Regions from separate parts of the Homo sapiens genome. Here regions 1, 2 and 4 are each linked to region 3. The links are contacts of gene promoters, found by promoter capture Hi-C in blood cells and fetal thymus (Javierre and others, 2016). All regions are on one chromosome and are shown on one strand. The core of a region is centred on a gene start or on the middle of the fragment in contact, and the rest is flanking DNA. Distances in the headings are between cores, read along the strand shown.

Region 1 (3,148 bases), core at 530-3,029, 450 kb before region 3:
GCTAATTGTACACTTGTAGTATTGTAGGTTTGTTTTTATGTTTTAAGACATAGCTTAATAAGTTTTTGTGCATTATTGAAAAAGGTATAGAACAAGAATAAAGGCTAATCTATTCACTGGTTAAAATAATTTTAGTGGTACAGTAAATTGTCAGGCTTGGGCTTAATATATGTTTGGCTTTCTCGAAGGAAAACTCGCAAGTATTAATAAAAGCCACAAGCAGTTGAGATTTCTTTAAACAGTATCACTTGAGTTTTGTCTTTTCCATAAACTTGACTAGAGAACATGAGAATAAGTATATTTTATTGTCGATACAGTTCCCTTGCCTCTATTCCCTAAGCTTCTCTTTAACTTTGTAACTAGAAACGCCTCAGCTAAAGCAGAAACTGGGTATCTGGTGTTTCTGGATTGCCTTCTGAGATAAACCAGCATTCCTTCCTGAATACGGGTGGGTATTGCTTTAGTCTTGATTGGTCGGGGATTCTTTTACAAAGCAGACACAAGGCAATTTGTGAATTTACCTTGTGGGTGGTTGTGGCTGGTGCTTAGTTTGGTTGCTGTGATCATCTTGCCTGGTAGTTATTTATTTACATAAGTTTTTCACCAGTAGAAAGTACATAGAATGCTCTGACTTCCTGGAAAAAGAACTTTGATTTCTACCGTAAAGTCATTTCATTGCTGAGTTCTTCAACACACTCTATTCCCATTATAAAAAGATGTTTCAAATATTTTTTCCTTGCTAGCTTCCCAAGTCCAACTCTTTGTCCTTACGTGTGCATGCCTGAGTGTTGTTCTGTCATAAGGATCTTAGCTCTGTTCCATTTGCAAGCCACTTTTAAGCCACCGTGTCTCATTTGTGTGCTATTGATGCTTTATGAAGCTGGCGAGGTTGGGGTTTCTGTCTTTCGACATTGCTTTGGATCAGCAGACCTTGGTTACATCGCCACTCTGGAGAATGTGTTGGTTTATTCAGTTGATCTGTGTTCTTATGTCACTGTAACCAGGGGAAGGTTATGCCACTGACTTTAGAAATCTCGAAGGTTATGTTCCAACTCCAACTAATAATAAAGGTTTGAACAAAAATCCAATTAGTAAATTCTTCTCTAGTTTCTGAGAAAGTTGAGCTAGTTTTCTCTAGAATCCATGCTTGTTTCAAATGGGGGAAATAATCTCCTACAGGAACTATGGTGTGAATGTTTTGGGGTTTTCAGGGCCTGAAAAGTTTAATTATAGTTTATTTTTTAAGTCAGAGAGTTTAAAAAGTTTTGTTTGTGTCCAAAGTAATAAATACACTTTACATTGGTTCCCATGCCACACATGGCATATATGCATGGCATGCGTACATGGAATAGCTTTGTGGAATGATTTACCTTTACTGCGTGTCTACATATGGTACTCTGTTTTCTCTGTTTATTCTATTCTATGTTATCAAACAGAAAATGTCAGTCCTGACTTACTACTTGATTTTATGACCCTCAAAAATGGTGCTTTCGGTAGACTTCACTTTTTTCAGTAGGGTGTTATTATGCATGTGTATCACATAGCTTTTTTTTCTCAATATGTAGAAGTTACAAGCTATGATGGAATTTCTGTAGATAGTCCACTGTTGTCTTGGTGTTGGAGAAAGGCCTGGTATACCAGGAGTACTTTGAGAAACAGTGTAGAGTAGTGGTGCCTCTCAGAAAACCATCTGGTCCAAAACCCAGCTTGTGACTCTGAGCCACCTACGCATTCATCCACCATAGGAAGTCCTTTTCTGAGTTCCCCTCTGCGCCCCTAGTCCAGGACCCCGTTGGTGTATAAGCCTTGAAAGTTGGCAGCAGGACCGAGTGATTGCCAACAGGAGCCTTGCTGCCTGCTGCAGGGCAGTGTGGAAGAGCCTGCTGATGCACTCAGGCTGATTCCCTGCACCTGCTCACTGGCCCTAGGGAAAGCCCATGAATAGCAATGTCTGGCCAGTTTCTGCCCTGATCCTGTAGATTTCTCTGTCTTTATTTACCAGCCTACTGTCCATCCCCCATAGGGGAAAATTAGTTGTGAAGTTTAGTCCAAAACTTTAACTTCCAATTTTTGGATTCTAGCCTGTATGTAGCAGAGATCCTATGTTGGAACTGGAAAACAAAAGCAATGTTTTGGTGGTTTTCTTTTTTTTTTTTTCTTTTTAAAGAGATAGAGTCTCCCTCTGTCGTCCAGGCTGGAGTGCAGTGGTGCACTCATAGGTTATTGTAACCTGAACTCTAGGGCTTAAGGAATTCTCCTGCCTCAGCCTCCCAAGTTAGCTGGGACTACAGGGGCCTGCCGCCATGCCTGGCTAATTTATTTTATTTTGTTTTTTTGTAGAGAAGGGGTCTTGCTATGTTGCCCAGGCTGGTCTTCACTCTTAGCCTCAAGTGATTTTCCCACTTCAGCCTCCCAAAGTGCTGGGAATATAGGCGTGAGCCACTGCCTGGCTGTAGTGTTTTTTTTGAAACAGTTACTGTAAAAACTGGTAACTGGGGCCAGGCACTGTAGCTCGTGCCTGTAATCCCAGCACTTTGGGAAGCCGAGGCAGGTGGATCACGAGGTCAGGAGATCAAGACCGTCCTGAACATGGTGAAACCCTGTCTCTACTAAACATACAAAAATTAGCTGGGCATGGTGGTGTGCTCCTGTAGTCCCAGCTACTCAGGAGGCTGAGGGAGGAGAATTGCTTGAGCCCAGGAGGCGGAGGCTACAGTGAGCTGAGATTGTGCCACTGCACTCCAGCCTGGGCGACAGAGTGAGACTCTGTCTCAGGGAAAAAAAAAAAAAAAAGGGTGGGCACAGTGGCTTACCCCTGTAATCCCAGCACTTTGGGAGGCTGACGCAGGTGGATCACGAGGTCAGGAGATCGAAACCATCCTGGCTAACACGGTGAAACCACATCTCTACTAAAAATACAAAAAATTAGCCGGGCGTGGTGGTGGGTGCCTGTAGTCCCAGCTACTCGGGAGGCTGAGGCAGGAGAATTGCTTGAATCCAGGAGGCGGAGGTTGCAGTCAGCCGAGTCCGCACCACTGCACTCCAGCCTGGGCAACAGAACAAGACTCCATCTCAAAAAAAAAGCCCCCCAAAAAACCCTGGTAATTGGTTAGAGATACTTTTCTAAATTGTGATCATATAGACTAGA
Region 2 (3,044 bases), core at 482-2,981, 420 kb after region 3:
GTGAATTCCATGAGCATGGGCCCATTGCTGCACTTCTTTAGCTGTGAAGTGAGTTATTGGTGAGAAGCAATGCTGTGTGGAATACTATGACAGAGGATAAAGCATTCTGTGAGTCCATGAATGGTAGTTTTGGCAGAAGCATTGCATGTAAGGAAGGCAAATTCATATCCAGAATAAGTAAGGTCAAAACATTGTCCCTTCCACGATAGGAGCTGTCCAATCTAGTCAACCTGCAACCAGGTAGCTGGCTGATCTCCCCAGGGAATGGTGCCATAGCAGGGGATCAGTGTCAATCTCTGTTGCTGGTATATTGGGCTCTCAGCAGTGGCCGTAGCCTGGTTTGCCTTGGTGAGTGGAAGCTGATGTTGCTGAACCCATGCATAATCTCCATCCCTGCCACCGGGGCCACTTTATTCATGCGCCCATTGGGCAAGCATGAGGTGGCTGGCAATAGGGCTGACTGATATCCACAGAACAGTCATCCTAGCTATGTAATTATTAAAATCCTCCCCAGCTGAGGTCACCCTTTGGTGAGCATTTGTATGGGACACAAATATTTTTATATTTTTTGCACATTCAAAGTAATCTATGTATATACATCTCCAAATTTCATTTGTCACCAATTTTCCAATCATGTTTCTTCTAAGTCCCTGATCCTCCAACCAAACCATCTGTTACGGCCCATGAATTAGTATGTAATCTCACATATGGCCATTTCTTCTTCTCCTGCAAAGTCACAACCAGGTGTACTGCCTGAAGTTCTGCCCACTGGGAGGATTTCCCTTCACCACTGTCTTTTAGGGATACCATAGAGAGAGGCTGTAGTTCTGCATTCCATTTGCACAAGGCCCAGGAGCAGGCCAAAAGCTGTCTCTTAAAAGGAGAGTAGTTATCTGTGGATGATGGCAGGACCTTGCTCCCAGTGTTCTGTAGTCCCTAAAATGTCTGATTATTTTCCTTTCTCTGGTGCACATTTATACTGGTAAAAATCCATAGGTCTTCCTCATCTCTACTAAAAATACAAAAATTAGCTAGGTGTGGTGGCACACACCTGTAGTCCCAGCTACTTGGGAGGCTGAGGCGGGAGAATAGCTTGAACTCAGGAGGCAGAGGTTGCCATGAGCCGAGATCACACCACTGCACTCCAGCCTGGCGACAGAGTGAGACTCCATCTCAAAAAACAAAAACAAAACAAAAACCAACAACAACAAAAAACCATAGGTCTCTTTGGGGAAGACTGGGAGGATGATTAATACTATACATTTTTGGTAGTGTACTGGGGTTCTTCCTTGAGGGGACCCTACCTCGCCTTCACTCAAGCATTCTGGATCTTTAAACTGGCTCAAGCCTGGGAATCGATTGAGGGACTTAGGGTTCTGTAGAGAAACAGAACCAATAGGATTTATTATGAGAATTGGATCACAACATTAAGGAAGCTGAGAAGTCCCACAATCTGCTGTCTGCAAACTAGAGAATCAGGAAAGCCAGTGGTATTATTTAGTTCAAGTCTGAAGGCCTGAGAACCAGCAGCTTCAATGTCCAAGAGCAGGAGAAGATGATGGCTCAGGGGAAACAGAGAACATATTCTCCCTTCCTCCACTTTTTTTGTTTTACTTGGGCTCCTAATGGATTGGATAATGAATGCCTACACTGGTGAGGATGGATCTTCTTTATTTAGTCTACTGATTAAAATGCTGATCTCTTCTGAAAACACCCTCACAGACACACCCCAAAATAATGTTTTACTAGCTATCTGGGCATCCCCAGTCAAGTTGACACATAAAAGTAACCACACCCTTGATGACCTTGTGCGGAAAAGTTGAACTTGTATTTCTTCCTGGGGTATGATCCCTTGGGTATAAGTGTAGGAAACATGGGATCTGGGAGGTGAGATAATGTCAGGCTCATGGGAAAAAAACCACAAGATGAGATGGGAAGAGGCCTGGAGTCCTAGATGGTAAATGCATCTTGTAAATCACATTATTTATATTTATGCCATTTCTAGCTTTCATTACTTCTGTAAGCACTGTTCTAAGAGGGCATTAAGGCATTAGGTCCTGTTTTCCATGTAGACAAAGATGTAAAGGAGCAGTGCTGCCTGAGGCATCATGGTGGCAACAGTGAGAAAAAAAAAAATACAATTCCTAAGAAAGTGGAGCAAGTCAGAGGCGCAAGATCCATCTGCCCCTCTGGACACAGGATTCTTACTCCATTGCTAATGTTGGAAAACGTGGGTGCACCATATCATGATTAGGGAAGTTTGCAGTTTTCTTTCAAAGGGCACAGCATAGCAAACAGAAACTATAAGGGTTCCTATACAATGGAGAATAAGGCCTAGAGCTGTGAAGCTGTGCAGCTTTCTAGTCTTCATCCAACCTCCCACTCCCTTCTGCTCTTTAGGGCACTCCTGTGTTGATATTAATATTTGTGTTAATACTATCAATTTATCTTAGACTTTGCTTTCCTGAGTCATTGCTTCCATAAATCACTAACCTTCCCAGTTAAGTGCCCCTGAGGTGTATATGACTGACCATAAACCTCTCTTGAACCTGACTCAATGCAAATGCTCAATAAATGTTAGTGAATTCATAAGTAACATCAAACTAAATGAGGAGGAAATAATGAACATCTAGTGATCAGCTCAAAATGACTTTCCTGAAGTTTTTCTAAGTATCCTAAAAATATCAAGAGGGGAAAATTGTTTCCTGTTATTTTCATTACCAAAACATTTTCTTCCATAAACATTTCACTAGCAGCAACTTCTCCAACTTTTTGACCAAATAGCAACAAGGGTAAAGCAAGGATTGCATACTAAGGGTAAGAGAAAACTTTAATCAGGTTTAGGGAGTCTAAGAGTACATTCAGCTGGGATAAAGGCACTGAAAGTGTCTTCTCTTTGATTCCAAGGCATTCCCCTTTGCCTTCATATTTCTTGGAGCGAAGTTAGTTTCTCAGACATATTTTCACCCACACAGAGATGCTGACATTTTATCCTGACCTTTCCACTTCAGTTACTTCCAAATAAGTATCCATTGATGTGGGAT
Region 3 (3,063 bases), core at 42-2,541:
TTATGTAAAATGAAGGCTAGGGAAATTATTTCATGTATTTTCAGATACTTTCTCCATGCTTTTATTCGTCCTCAAGAATTGCCAGAAAATGGCATAAGTCAAAAGAGTATTCTGTTTCTATTGAGAATATCAAATTGGAATACAATTTAAAATATTTTTAAGTAGTTCCCACTTTTATATTAAATTAACAGAAAAAATAGGGGATTCAGAAGAAATCTTTGGAGGTACAGGGTTAAGACATGACCCCCATACGATGTTTCAGTGATTTTCCCAAGGCCACCGAGGTGCCTGACACTGAGAACTCCTTTGTCCTCAGCGGCACACCTGGCTGCCACCCCACCCTTCCTGTCACATCTTAGGAGTCAGAACTGCGACGGGAGCTAGCCCAGGACACCGAAGGGGGGATCCTAAATGCAGGTTGCATGCTGACGTATGATTTTTATTTGGAAAAACCTCAAAATAGTAAATGAAGAGTAGAGAGAGTGCAGTTTAAATAGGTAGAGATTCGTGATAGGAAGTGGACTGCAGCAGAGGCGACATGAAATTATCTGGGGAAGCCAGATGAAGCCTTTCCGAAAGGAAGCGAGCATTTGTTAAATTACATGTTCATTCATCAAATTCACTGAGCTCCCCTTGAGATCCAAACACGGTGCCGGACACTAAGGATACACAGATAAATTCAGCATCGCCTCCGCTTTCCAAAATCTGGCAACCCAGCAGGAAAGAACAGCATGCAAAGAGATAAGAGTACCCGGGGAGCCACGGTCCAAGGTGCAAAGGCGGAGCCTAGGAGGAAGGGATCACCTGTGTCAGCAGGGGTCAGGGACGGGCTTCTGGGTTTGGGTGCACGCGTCCAAAGGAGTGCAGCCTTTATCCACAGGTGCAATTAGAACACCCATCTCACACTGCTGAAAACTCAGATATGGCACTGCTGACCACCGCCCCACGATGCGACATCAGGGGTCAGATATTAGGCTGGCGCTGTGCAGATAAACAAGTGTATATGTTGGTGCGCCAGGAAGACAAAACACGCGCCTGGAGAGGCCAGGAGAGCGGGACTGGAGGGTTGTGGGACGCGCGGGACCCTCGGGCCGCCTTCCGCCGCCGCCCGGTGTCACCAGAACCCAGCCTGTTTACCAGCGGCCCCGCCCGCCCCGGCCCGGCAGGGCAGGTCGGGGCGGGCGCGCTCTGAGTCACCGGAATCTAGGTGGGGCCGCCCGGAGCGGCGTCCTCGGGAGCCGCCTCCCCGCGGCCTCTTCGCTTTTGTGGCGGCGCCCGCGCTCGCAGGCCACTCTCTGCTGTCGCCCGTCCCGCGCGCTCCTCCGACCCGCTCCGCTCCGCTCCGCTCGGCCCCGCGCCGCCCGTCAACATGATCCGCTGCGGCCTGGCCTGCGAGCGCTGCCGCTGGATCCTGCCCCTGCTCCTACTCAGCGCCATCGCCTTCGACATCATCGCGCTGGCCGGCCGCGGCTGGTTGCAGTCTAGCGACCACGGCCAGACGTCCTCGCTGTGGTGGAAATGCTCCCAAGAGGGCGGCGGCAGCGGGTCCTACGAGGAGGGCTGTCAGAGCCTCATGGAGTACGGTGAGTGCCCGCCGCCGCCGCCGTCGCCGCCTCCAGGAAGCCCTCGGGGCCGCGGCCTGCAAAAGCCGCCGCGCGTGATGGGCCCTCACAGGGTCGGGGGAGCCAGTGCTTTTCAGAATGCCTGTTTAGGACGAGCTCGGGCTCATGCATCCGACCTGAACCAAATGCAGCAGCAGTAGCTTTGGGTGGCCAACACCAAGCTCAGAAACAGAAAAAAAAAAAAGGCCGTAGTTCAAACTGTATAGTTTTTTTCCTGGGTTTTGTCGGTTACGTACGAAAGATTATTTCAAGCATTGCAAGTTTAGATGAGTAAATATAATGAACAAAGTTTCTTGGAGACCTGAAATTTCTTCCCATTTCTCTTCCTTCTCGTTTCTTCTTATGATTAAAATATAAATATTGAAATAACGTGCCTTCCCTAATATCAGTGGATTCGTTCAACTTGATATAGCTGAAAAAACTTTCTCATTTAAAAAAGCCCTTTCAGGCAGTTTTAGCAGTTAACGTTTTCAATAGATATTTCAGTCTACTTTACCGGTCAGGCTAGTTCTTGTTAGCTCTTGTTCTAGGGCGTGTCCTTTGGTTTAAGCATGGCATTGTTGTTTAGAAAACTTAATTATTTTAATCCGATTTGAAATCTAAAAAGCAAACACATTCCCTACACTCGCGACGTGAAGCAGAGTTGACAAATTTAATGTACCTAGCAGGTGAAGTACTGTATGCCATTTTCCCAGCATGGAGGAAGCTCCCTGCTTGCCTTGCTGAAAGTCAGGACTGGAGCATAGTTCTTGTCTGAGAAGGCATTTTCTTTCACAGTGGGAAGCCCCCTCTCCTTTCCTGGGGGTGGATGGGAATCACAGCTGGGGTCTACTGTGATTAGCAATGTGTGTGGGGGTGGAGATGGGGTCTGTGAGAGCCTAATAAAACCTTAAAGCCAAATGGGCTTTACCTACCGGGTTTAATAGTTTTAAACACAGACAGCAAGCTACCCTGCCTGTTTTCATTTCTTACTATTACCATTGACTTGATTTTTTTCTTTGAAGTGGCCCAGGGCTTCCAACCCAATCCTGTTTATTTGTGTTTCCGGGGGACTATATCAGCAACTTGGTGCCCTTTCTTTTGTGTAATCCTTTGGACGTCACTTCCCCACAAAAGGAAGCATGGTCCCCATTAGCCAGGTAATAAAATGTAAACACTGCAGAAAATTCCAGCTTTCTTTGCAGTTTGTGTGTTTTCTTCTCTGAAAACCCATACACTGTGCCAGCTCAGGTTTGTATCATCTCCAGTGTTTTAGGTTTTTAAAGCGAATTAATTGTTTTTTGAAATAATGTACCTCTATCTTCTAGTTAAAATGCATCTGAACTCAGTCTCTTCTAGGGGACCTAACAGATCTGCGTGTGTGTTTTTAAACATACTTTGATAATTATACCCTACTCCAAAGACTAATGCAGACCCAAAGTATATGCAGTAATCCTCCACA
Region 4 (3,492 bases), core at 935-3,434, 420 kb before region 3:
AGGTACTCTGTTAATCTGTTGAGTAATTAAGTGCTTAGCTACCGTAAGGACTTCATTCCTTCCCCTTTATTTCTGTGAACTGTTATGGTTATTAAAAGTTATAGGAACCTTGACCTCTGATAGGCTGCCTTTTCAGCTTCTGTCTTGTAAGTGGGCTCATCATTTTAATGTCCAGTTGAGATCTTATTAGATTACACATTCGGGATGAGCCTGGAATCTTCCATGATGCTATTAGCCGTGAGTAAAATTTCTGCATGTAAAACAGAAAGACCCCTAACCTAGGAATCAGAGTTTCTGATCCCAAGTCTCACATTTATTGACTCAGAATAAGCCACCTAACTACTCTGAGCCATTTGTTGCCATCTAATAAATAGAAGTGATTGCCCTGCTTGCTTGATGGGGTGATTTTGTGGGGGATCAAATGAGATAAGATACCCAGAATGTAGCCAGAAACTAGGAACCCTCTTTCTCTCTCCTCTCCCATTCTCTTGTACTTCTTGTCAATTCCATCCCTTCTCTCCAGCCCTTGGGTCACCACTGCCTCAGTGAGATGACTGTTAGCATCTCATGCCTTTATTAGGCTCCTGACTCACGGATCCTAGGCTAATTACCTAGCATCCCTTCTCCAAACTCTATCCAGAATGAAAAAACAGATTGCAACTGTTTCTTCTCTGGTTAAAAAGTCTTCAGTTCCCTACCACCACTGTTCCATTGCCTTCAGGATGAAGTGTAAATTCCCTAACATGACATAGAGGAGCCCTTCATGACAGAATGCCTCCTTATTTTCTTCTTGAGCTTCAATTCTCAGTAGCCTCTTCCCCCATCCATATTTCCCACTGTGTTCACCTTCCTTGGCACGTGCCAGGACCCTCTGCCTTGAGGGAATATCTGCTTCTCCCCTATTGCTTCAACCTGATCTTTAGATTAGACTTACAGGATTCAGTTCAGATGTTACCTCCTCTTGGAAGTTCTCTATAATATTCCAATGCTGGTTAGTAACCCCTTCTCTGAGTTACCTATCACAGTGTCATACATCTGTCTGTTTTCTTGTGCTAGGCAATAAGAACCTAGAGGGTAGGGAATGTGTATTGTTCATTACCATTGATACCAAGAAGCACATAAATGTTGGCTATATTACTTTGTTAATAATTGAAAAAAATTTAAGATATAAAGGAAAATTCTGGTGTATCATCTGGTTTAATATCAGAAAAAGAATTAGCCAGGTATTGTGGCTCACACTTGTAATCCCAGCACTTTAGAAGGCTAGGCAGGCAGATCACTTGAGGTCAGGAATTGAAGACCCGCCTAAGCAACATGGCAAAACCCTGCCCCTACAAAAACAAAAAACAAAAAGACAAAAAAGTTAGCCAGGTGTGGTGGCACATACCTGTAGTCTCAGCTACTGTGGAGGCTGAAGTGGGAGGTCAAGGCTACATTGAGCCAAGATGTTGCCACTGCACTCCAGCCTGGGCAACAGAGCAAGACCCTGTTTCAGGAAAAAAAAAAAAAGAGAGAGAAACAAAATGGTTGACAAATGAAGTAGATCTAAGAAAAACAGAAACAAAATGGAAAGCGTTACCCTGCCCCCTTATTTGAAGTTACAAAAGTTACAAACTAACTGTTCTTACCTGGAATACCATGCCTTGCCCTGGAAGATTGTATTTAAGAGGAAATACCACAGTATTCTGTAAGAGTAAATTAGAATGGACATTGTCAACCAAAGGCAGTTATTCAAGACTAGGAGTGATGCTGTTTATTACCTGGAATGGTGGTGAAAACTAAAAATATGAACCCATTCAAGAAAATGCAGACAAACAGTTTAATTTTTGATTTATATCTTAGTTCAGACTGCTATAACAAAGTACCATAGACTGGGTGACCTGTAAGCCACAAATTTTATTTCTCACAGTTCTGTAGGCTGGAAGTCTGAGATCAAGGTATCAGCATGAATTCTGGTGAGGTTCCTCTTCCGGGTTGCAGACTGCTGTCTCCTCATAGTATTTTCACATGGAAAAAGAGAGGAGAAAACTGTGGCCTTTTTTTTAAAAAAAAAATATTTTAAATTTTATTTCAATAGTCAAAAACTATTGAACAGATGGTTTTTGGTTGCATGGATAAGTTCTTTAGTGACGATTTCTGAGATTTTGGTGCACTTGCCACCTGAGCAGTGTATACCCTACCCAACATGTGGTCTTTTATCCCTCACCCACTCCCATCCTTTCCCCCAAGTCCCCAAAGTCCATTATACCATTTTAATGCCTTTGCATCCTCATAGCTATATATCACTATATTTGGTAACTCACTTAGTAGCTACCACTTATAAGTGAGAACATACAATATTTGGTTTTCCATCCCTGAGTTGCTTCACTTAGAATAATGGTCTCCATCTCCATCCAAGTTGCTGCAAAGACCATTATTTCATTCCACTTTATGGCTGAGTAGTATTCTATGGTGTGTATATATATCAGATTTTCTTTATCCACTCTTCAGTTATTGGGCATTTAGGCTGGTTCCACATTTTTGCAATTGCAAATTGTGCTGCTATAAACATGCATGTGCATGTATCTTTTTCATATAATGACCTCTTTTCCTTTGGGTAGATATCCAATAGTGGTATTACTGGATCGAATGGTACTTCTACTTTGAGTTCTTTAAGGAATCTCCATACTGTTTTCCATAGTGGTTGTACTAGTTTACAGTTCTGCCAGCAGTGTGAAAGTGTTCCCTTTTCACCACATCCCTGCCAACATGGTCATTCTTGCAAGAGTAAGGTGGTATCTCATTGCAGTTTTAATTTGCATTTCTCTGGGGCCTCTTTTGTAGGTGCACTAATTTTATAGGTGTACTAATTCCATTCATGGGGTCTCCACTCTGATGACCTAATCACCTTCCAAAGGCCCCACCTCCTAATACCATCACATTGGGGATTAAGATTTTAACATAAGAATTTTGGGGAGACAAACATTCAGACCATTGTAATCTATAATTGATTATTAAGGCAAAATGGTCTGTTTGAGTCTTCTGGAATTAAAGAATTCAAATAATGGAAAACAACTCCAGTCTACTAAATATGATAGGCAAAAATTTTTACCCCTGTGACTTTTATTCCTGCCATGTCTGTCAGTATGTTACACTACATGGCAAAAAGGGACTTTTCAGATGTCATTAAAGTTACTAATCAATGACCTTACCCAAGGGAGATTAGCCTGGATTATCCAAGTGGGCCTAATGTAATCACAGGAGCACTGAAAAGCAGAGCTCTCTCTGGTTGATGGCAGAGCGGAAGTTGAGAGATTCTGTGGGTGAGGAGTCAGTACGCTGTTGCTGGCTTGAAGATAGAGGGAGCAGTAGGAGACTGAGAAGGAACTGAATTCTGCCAACAATGAGCTTGGAAGCTGATTCTTCTGCACAGCCTTCAGATAAAAGCCCAGGCTGGCCGACAGTTAAGTTTAGGCCTTGTGAGACCCTAAGCAAGGCCCCCAGCCAAGTCTG

The links. Contacts are between HindIII fragments. The CHiCAGO score rates a contact against its expected background, and 5 or more counts as called.
Region 1: a contact is called between a fragment that was not itself captured here and the fragment with the promoter of PERP in region 3, in 2 of 17 cell types (erythroblasts and neutrophils). The highest score is 6.5, in erythroblasts.
Region 2: a fragment that was not itself captured here is called in contact with the fragment with the promoter of PERP in region 3 in 1 of 17 cell types (neutrophils); the score reaches 5.8 in neutrophils.
Region 4: a contact is called between a fragment that was not itself captured here and the fragment with the promoter of PERP in region 3, in 4 of 17 cell types (naive B cells, neutrophils, naive CD4 T cells and 1 more). The highest score is 7.7, in naive B cells.

The regions. Positions count from the first base shown.
Region 1 is chr6:138,558,067-138,561,214 of GRCh38, reverse strand. It overlaps a transcript of NHSL1 not described here. Among named protein-coding and RNA genes, the nearest start is that of NHSL1, 60 kb to the right of the region's middle. The HindIII fragment of the contact is 2,874 bases long and covers 343-3,148 here.
Region 2 is chr6:137,689,679-137,692,722 of GRCh38, reverse strand. No RefSeq gene overlaps it. Among named protein-coding and RNA genes, the nearest start is that of LINC03004, 26 kb to the right of the region's middle. The HindIII fragment of the contact is 9,855 bases long and covers 1-3,044 here.
Region 3 is chr6:138,105,647-138,108,709 of GRCh38, reverse strand. It overlaps PERP (p53 apoptosis effector related to PMP22), which reads left to right and starts at 1,291. Exons shown (of 3, transcript NM_022121.5): 1 at 1,291-1,583. The coding sequence starts at 1,370. RefSeq lists a silencer at 1,113-1,162. The HindIII fragment of the contact is 14,503 bases long and covers 1-3,063 here.
Region 4 is chr6:138,529,538-138,533,029 of GRCh38, reverse strand. It overlaps a transcript of NHSL1 not described here. Among named protein-coding and RNA genes, the nearest start is that of NHSL1, 32 kb to the right of the region's middle. The HindIII fragment of the contact is 8,403 bases long and covers 1-3,492 here.